Regions from separate parts of the Homo sapiens genome. Here region 1 is linked to region 2. Evidence: promoter capture Hi-C in 16 types of primary human blood cells and fetal thymus (Javierre and others, 2016). All regions are on one chromosome and are shown on one strand. Each heading gives the region's core, a stretch centred on a gene start or on the middle of the fragment in contact. The rest is flanking DNA. Distances are from core to core; before and after follow the strand shown.

What was found. The method cuts DNA at HindIII sites, captures the fragments that hold promoters and counts their contacts. A CHiCAGO score of 5 or more calls a contact.
Region 1: a fragment that was not itself captured here is called in contact with the fragment with the promoter of H2AC15 in region 2 in 1 of 17 cell types (naive CD8 T cells); the score reaches 5.0 in naive CD8 T cells.

What each region holds. Positions count from the first base shown.
Region 1 is chr6:26,501,759-26,505,778 of GRCh38, reverse strand. It overlaps BTN1A1 (butyrophilin subfamily 1 member A1), which reads right to left. Exons shown (of 8, transcript NM_001732.3): 3 at 3,842-4,020; 4 at 573-854. The region is part of intron 1 of LOC107986583 (a long non-coding RNA gene); the gene reads left to right. Among named protein-coding and RNA genes, the nearest start is that of BTN1A1, 3.5 kb to the right of the region's middle. The HindIII fragment of the contact is 357 bases long and covers 1,606-1,962 here.
Region 2 is chr6:27,836,706-27,840,799 of GRCh38, reverse strand. H2AC15 (H2A clustered histone 15) reads left to right here and starts at 2,425. Exons shown (of 1, transcript NM_003510.3): 1 at 2,425-2,920. The coding sequence starts at 2,461. The coding sequence ends at 2,853. H2BC15 (H2B clustered histone 15) reads right to left here and starts at 2,231. Exons shown (of 1, transcript NM_003520.4): 1 at 1,690-2,231. The coding sequence starts at 2,138. The coding sequence ends at 1,758. RefSeq lists enhancers at 1,980-2,189, 2,520-2,609, 2,680-2,789, 3,060-3,109, 3,180-3,269 and 3 more. The HindIII fragment of the contact is 16,643 bases long and covers 1-4,094 here.

The DNA.
Region 1 (4,020 bases), core at 535-3,034, 1.3 Mb after region 2:
GACAAAGCTTCTCTATCTCACTTAGATCTCCTGAAATGGAAAATCTGGAATTTCACTGGGTGTGATGGCTCACACCTATAATCCCAGCACTTTGGGAGGCCGAGGCAGGTGGATTGCTTGAGGCCAGAAGTTCAAGACCAGCCTGGGGAACATGGTGAAACCCTGCCTTCGCTAAAAATACACAAAATTAGTTGGGCACGGTGGTGTGCACTTGTCGTCCCAGCTATTCTGGAGGCTGAGGCAGGAGAATCGCTTGAACCTGGGAAGCGGAGCTTGCAGTGAGCTGAGATCATTCTGCTGCTGCACTCCAGTCTAGGCAACAGAGTGAGACACTGTCTCAAAAAATAAATAGATAAATAATCTGAAATTTATTTGAGATCAAGGTAGGTTTATGTCTTCAGTATCTTAACTCTTCTAATAAAGTTGGTGGGGTTCCCTTAAGTCACTGGAAAAGAGCTTAGGTGGGGAAAGTAGACAACTCTGCCATGAGGTCACATCTGGGCAGGTGTCCCAGGTGGTGTGGCTCTGAAGCTGTGTCAACATAGGAATCCAGCAGCATTGGTTCCACTAACCTGGTATGGATATTTCTACTTTCTTCTCCTGGCCAAGAAGGAGATTCTGGATGTAGCAGGACACATTTTTCGCAGAAGTGTCTCTGATGATCACTGAAGCAGCCACAGTGAACAAACCTTCTTCATCAGGATTCCTGGACTCTGATGTAGATGGAAACTTCTCTCCCTTGGAAGTTCTCCACTGCACCTGGGGCTCTGGGTACCATCCCACTGAGGTGCACTCCAGACAGATTTCTCCATTCTCTTGAACTTGCATACTGATGTGAGGGTCAGAGCCCAGAGCTATGGAGAGAGAATCTGGACTTAATGTTTTAGCGGACCCCTTTTGGGAGCCTTATAACCAGAGAGCTACATAGTTTGAGAAAGAGAGAGACAGAAAGGCACAAGTGGACTAGTAGGGGGAAGAACTCATCTCCATATTTCAATATACAAGGAAACTGAGGGCCAGGCACAGTGGTTTATGTCTGTAATGTCAGCACTTTGGGAGGCTGAGGCAGGATTACTTGAGTCCAGGAGATCAAGACCAGCCTGGGCAACACAATGAGACCCCATCTCTTTGGGCATGGTGGTTCTTGCCTGTATTCCTAGCTACTTGGGAGGCTGAGGTTGGAGGATTGCTTGAGTTCAGGAGTTCAAGGCTGCAGTGAGCTGTGATGGCACCACTGCACTCCAGCCTGGGTGACAGAGTGAAATGCTGTTTCTAAAAAAGTTTTTTTTTTTTTTTAAAGGAAATTGAAGTACCAATAAAAGGAATTTCATATACCTTATCAGAGAAGGATGCCTTGTTGGGATCAAGCCTTTGAAATGTTTGCAGCAGTTTGGTGGGCAGACTTGGGGGTGCTTGTCCAGCCAGCAGGAACACTAAGACCAATAACTCAGAGGTGGGTTAGTGGTCTAGGCTGAGAGCATTATGAGAAGACTTTGGTGGGGAGGAGGAGAAATAGGACTGGGTATTTAAGGATGAACAGAGGAATATCCTTGAGGAGAGGATTGGCGATTCTTTGGCTTGAGATTATAGTTGACAATTTAAGCTTTCTTTATCTATGATGTTGATTCAGAAATTTTCTTAAATGGTCTCAACTTCATATTCCCTCACATAATTGTGGCCTGTTATATATAAACATAAAGCTGCTTTTCTTGTGTGTTTAGCCTATTTTTTTCTGTAATTCCACATGGTACAGAAAAACACTGAGCTGCATAAAAGAGCTCTTAAACACATTTCCACAACCACTGGTTAAAATCCACATTCCAAGAATGTGTGTATATACAAGAATATATATTCTTTTCATGGAAGGAGCTGCCACTTTCAGCAGATTCTCAAGGGTGTCTGCCACTCATAAAAGGTAACACATTTTATGCCATCAAATTTCTATGTTTTTATAATCAAGCTTTAAGATACTTCTTCCCTAAAAACAAAATGTCAAAATTTGAATTATACATGATGCTGCAACTGGGGGACCCTGTTGTGAAGCAGGGACCCACATTTCACCCAAGTATTTTTCAAACTTTATATTTACTTGAATATATATCTATGTATATATATATATAATATATGCATATAGATTTAGATAATATATACATATATGATATATATGTGAAAGGCAATATGTTTGTATATTATATGTTTTAGATCAGTTTAAGGCACAGTATAGTATCTAATAAGTCTATAATGTTTTTAGAATTGGCGAGGTCATTTCTCATATATTGTCTAATTTTATTTTATTCTTTTTTTTTTTGTTAGAGACGAGTCTCACTCTGTTGCCCAGGCTGGAGTGCAGTAGTGCAGTCTCAGCTCACTGCAACCTCTGCCTCCCAGGTTCAAGCGATTTTCCTTGAGTAGCTGGGATTACAGGTATGACCCAGCTAATTTCTTTTTGTATTTTTAGTAGAGATGGGGTTTTGCCATGTTGGCCAGGCTGGTCTTGAATATCCTGATCAAAAGTGAGTCACCCGCCTTGGCCTCCCAAAATGCTGGGATTACAGGCGTGAGACACCACATCCCACTTTTTTTTTTTCTTTTTTTGACAGCACACTCTATTGTCCAGGCTGGAGTGCAGTGGCAACCATCAGCTTACTGTAACCTTGAATTTCTTGGCTCAAGAGATCCTCCTGCCTCTGCTTCCCAAAGCGCTGAGATTATAGGAGTTGGCCACTGGTCCCAGACTATTTTATTCTTGAAAAATAATCTTAGATAAAAACATCCTCAGTTTTACAGTAAAAATCAGAAAGAGATTTGCTTGATGTCATTCACTAGGAATTGAGAAAGTCAGACCTCAATGCGTACTTTCCTCCTCAAAGCTTATTATTTTCTTTATTGTTTCCCTTTGAATTCTGGCTTGAAGCAAAAAAGGGAACAAGAACAGAATCTTTTCTATATGAATCAGGAATGTGACAAACCGCCATGCTCTCTAATCTTAGGATGTCAGTCTTTAGAAACTAATCCATAAGCCAGCCTTAAAGTGTGTGGTATGCTCACCACAGCCATAAGATGTGTAATGGTGAGAAATACAATTTAAATGTACAATTCAGGGACTCGATGAAGTAAATTATGGTGTACTTGTATAAAAGAATGTTATATAACTCTTATATGTATTTAATTATTTCATGAAGAAATGCTTACCCTATTATTGAAAAAGGGCTGGAGATAATTGAAATAAAGTTCTACAATAAAGACATTGCACTGTTCTCTCCATGTTCAACTCAAAACCCTTTCTCACTGATTTCCTACTGTAGGACCTTCAGTACCTTCTAGCTGTGGAGTCCTAATCAGGGGAAAACAAAGAGATAAGGCAGATAAGCTGCAAGTCTGCCTTTCTTCATGGTCCAGTACACAGCCCTCCTGTGCAAATAACTCACAGTCATCCTTCCTGTGTCCAACTATCACCAAACACCTGCAAGTTAGCTCACTGCAACCTTTGCCTTATAGATACTGCACAAAGCCATCTTCAACAGACAGCATAAAAACTATTCTATAAATTATCCAGCAAGCCTTTGTTTCCTGGCAGTCAGCTTCTCTTTTGCTGATCCTGCCTTTTGCCTCCTCGAAAAGTATTTTCATACTTTTAAAAGTAAATCTGCCTTTCTTTACAACTGTCTTGGTAAATTCTTTTACCCCCCCTCGCCTCCCGCCCAGATAGTCGTCCCTCCCCGGCGACATCAACCTAAAAGAGATTTTGAGAATGAATCTGATGGTTTCCAAAGTAACTGATCCATACGAAAGTGTATACAGCAGGGGAGTCGTCGGAGAAAGTCAAAACCCGTCTACTCACCAGCCACCTTCAGATGCACCAGGGCTTCTTCGTAGCTTCCATCCTCCCTGAAAAAGCACGTGTACTCCCCGTCGTCAGAGACTCTGACGCCACGGATCCTCAAGGCCACGCGCCCCTTGGCGATGCCGTCCTGGACCAGCGTCGCCCGCCCGCGGTACTCGGGCATCTGCTCGGCTTCC
Region 2 (4,094 bases), core at 1,176-3,675:
TTTCATTTTATTTATTTATTTATTTATTTATTTATTTATTTATTTATTTATTTATTTTAAGAGGTAGGGTCTCACCATACTGCCCAGGCTGGTCTTGAACTCCTGAGCTTAAGCAAACCTCCCATCTCAGCCTCCCAAAGTGCTAGGATTACAGGCATGAGCCACCATGCCCAGCCATGGTTTTACTTCTGAGTTTAAAAAAAATGTTATTATATATGAACCTTCTGAGACTTACATTTCTAAAATTCAACCAGGTACTGTGTGTACCTCAATAAATGCATTATTTTGACCATGAACATGTAGTTGCCTCTAGTATTTTTATCTATTAAAAATGGCATTTTTTCCATTCTCATATGTCTCCTGTTGCATGTGTGCAAAATATTCTTTCATGTAAACAGCTAGGAATCGAATGGTTGGGTCACTGGAGTACACTTACTGGATAAAAAATATTATCAAAAACCTTCAGCAAATACAATTTGATGTGGAAGAGTTCCCACACTGATTCTTGGCAAAGACCAAAATACTTTTAAATATGCCACTCCTAAGTGTTTAAAATGAAGACACTCATTTTGATTTCCTGAGTTGGGGGTGGGGGAAAACAATGGAGAACAGCCCTTCTCCTCCTCTATTTTTTTTTCTTTTAACATTTCTTCCAATTACTAGAGATACAGTAAACGCAAGTGACACAGACAAGAAAACATGGAGCAGACCCTAACAGAAAAAGTAGGGAATAGAAACTATGTTCATAAATAGGAATTCCACACAAGAGAATTATGGGAATGAGTAAGACAGCAAGATTCCTCCAAAAAACCTGCACTGCCAAGAATTTTCCCAACTAGAACACTCACCAGAGAAAACGGTGGCCAAGTTTCAAACTGCCCTCGCAGTGTCGGGATTGGCCATTGACATCAACTCAGCCCGATTGACGTGTACGGTGCTGTAAACTGGGTTCAAACTTTTTTCTACTGCCTTTCTATCTTAATATTTAGCAAATCCAAACTGGGGACAAGGGAGGAGAAACAGCACCACTCTCAAAACAAACAAGTCGATTTGTACGTTTGTGTGTGTGCCAACTGCTTCATTACTAAAGTACACATGAAGTTTAGGGACAGAGCGCCGGAAGCACTGTGGATATTTTACCAGTGACACTTAAGTATTATATTTTCTTTGGGGTCAACAGGAACTGAATTTTCCCTTTACTAGGTTTGTCTGATGATAAACCTCATCCTTCTTCAGATATAAAATTGTCTCAAGCGTTGCTGCAACATGCAGTACACTGCAGTGCTAATTAATTTCTTTTCTTTTTCTTTCTTTTTTGAGACAGAGTTTCGCTCTTACTGCCCAGGCTGGGGTGCAATGGCCCGATCTCGGCTCACTGCAACCTCCATCTGCCGGGTTCAAGCGATTCTCCTGCCTCAGCTTCCCGGGTAGCTGGGATTACAGGCGTCCGCCACCACGCCCAGCTATTTTTTTGTACTTTTAGTAGAGACGGGTTTCACCATGTTGGCTAGGCTCGTCTCGAACTTCTAACCTCAGGTGAGCCACCCGCTTCGGTTTCCCGAACCGGGATTAGAGGCTTGAGCCAAAATTAGTTTCTAACAAGGCTAAAGGAATCTTGGAAATCGTCTTTGTAGCAAGTAAGAAATACCTGCTGTAAGAACAGTGAGTGCCAGTTCTCTTTGGGAAGACTGAGTGGCTCTGAAAAGAGCCTTTGGGGTGTGGGCCGAGACTGACCGAACGTTCCGCGGTGGGCGGGCTCACTTGGAACTGGTGTACTTGGTGACGGCCTTGGTGCCCTCCGACACCGCGTGCTTGGCCAGCTCCCCTGGCAGCAGCAGGCGCACGGCCGTCTGGATCTCCCTGGAGGTGATGGTCGAGCGCTTGTTGTAATGCGCCAGGCGGGAAGCCTCGCCGGCGATGCGCTCGAAGATGTCATTGACGAAGGAGTTCATGATGCCCATGGCCTTGGACGAGATACCGGTGTCGGGGTGGACCTGCTTCAGCACCTTGTACACGTACACGGAGTAGCTCTCCTTGCGGCTGCGCTTGCGCTTCTTGCCGTCCTTCTTCTGGGCCTTTGTCACTGCCTTCTTGGAGCCTTTCTTCGGGGCAGGAGCGGACTTTGAGGGCTCGGGCATGACTGGGAGTAACTGCCGGAAAATTGGAGGAAAAAAACAGGAAGACGGTAGCTCTGTCAACCTACCGCTTATTCACTGCTTCTTAACGCAAGTGGGGTAGAGAATGAAGTTGTGCGTTTAACCAGTGGTGAGTCCTGGAAACGTATATTAACTTTGTCCAATCAAAATAAGTGTTTTTCAAAACCGCAATCCCATTGGTTAAAGCGAAACTGTAATGTTAGCCAATAGCACAGCTTAGTTTTCGTGCCTCTGTTGACTATAAGTAGCGGAGCTTTAGCGTTACGTCAGTCTCAGGAACGTTACTGATTGAATTTTTTACGTCATGTCGGGACGTGGCAAGCAGGGCGGCAAAGCTCGCGCCAAGGCTAAGACCCGTTCTTCAAGGGCGGGTCTTCAGTTCCCAGTGGGCCGAGTGCACCGACTGCTCCGCAAGGGCAACTACGCTGAGCGGGTCGGTGCCGGAGCGCCGGTGTACCTGGCGGCGGTGTTGGAGTACCTAACCGCCGAGATCCTGGAACTGGCTGGCAACGCGGCCCGCGACAACAAGAAGACCCGCATCATCCCGCGCCACTTGCAGCTGGCCATCCGCAACGACGAGGAGCTCAACAAGCTGCTTGGTAAAGTGACCATCGCCCAGGGTGGTGTCCTGCCCAATATCCAGGCCGTGCTGCTGCCTAAGAAAACTGAGAGCCACCACAAGGCCAAGGGCAAGTAGCGGGGCTGGAGCAGTTCATTACTCATACCTCGGTCCAAACCAAAAAGGTTCTTTTCAGAGCCACCTACTTTTTCACCAAGTAGAGCTGTGTTCAGTTTTATCTGATAGTCGAGTCATTTTGCAATGGCACTGGAATGCTGTATGGAGATGAAGCAAAACTAAACGGCTTTTACACCACATTGTTTTGAGATAGAAAGTAGACATTGAAATGTTTACGGTACATCAAGAAATTTAGGCGCGGCAGCTCGCGCCTGCAATACAGCTGAAACAATAAGAAAAGTGAGGCAAGAGAATAACAAAGGGAGCTGAAAGTTAGAGGGCAGAATAAGTAAAAGCAAAGGGCAGAAGTAAGGTAGATGGGCGGGTGAACAAGAAGCGAGATAACAAGCAGTGAACCTTTTGCAGCCGAAACAAAAGAGATAATGTGAGCAAGGACCTCGTGGCCGGCAAGATCTGGAACAAACCAGTTTAAGAGGCAGCTCTTCAGAGATGGGCATGCGTATTAGAGAGGAAAAGTATCCTTAACAAAAGCCCGTATGATAATCAGCTACTTAAGGTTCATGCATATGGGCTACATATCATGCATATATTTAAGATTATAAGATAGAGGCACAAGCCACAGAGGACAAAGTAAGCAACAAACCTATCAATAAAAGGGCAGATGCTGGCTATAGATTAGGCAGCACTGGGAACAGAAAACATACACACACGCACGCACACACATAAAATGACTCAAACTACAGCAAGCTGACGCTGATCTCACCTCGCAGAGGTCAGTCCGCTCTCTCCCACCCCCGAGAGTGTAATACTCTGTTTACTAAACTTTTGCTGCTTTGCTTTGCTATCTGTGTGTGTGTCGTCCAATTTCTACCGGGCACCAAGAGCCTGGAACTGTTTGGCACCATCCGGTAAACAGAACCGCTTTGGGAAGCCGAGGCGGAAGGACCGCTAGAGCCTTGGAGTTCGAAGCCAGCCTGATCTTTACAAAAGTAAAATAACTAACCGTGCCTGGCGTCTCATAGCCTGTAGTCCTAGCTACTCGGGAGGCTGAGACCAGAAGGATCACTTGAGCCCAGGAGTTCGAGGCTGCAATGAGCTATGATTGCACCACTGCAGTCCAGCTTGTGTGACAGAGCAAGAGTGTTTCAAATGAACCTAGTGTCAGATATTTACTTTCTGTATTACAGAGGACTGAAAGCTAGCTAAATAATACTTTTCAGTGTACCTGGGTTCCAGAGATA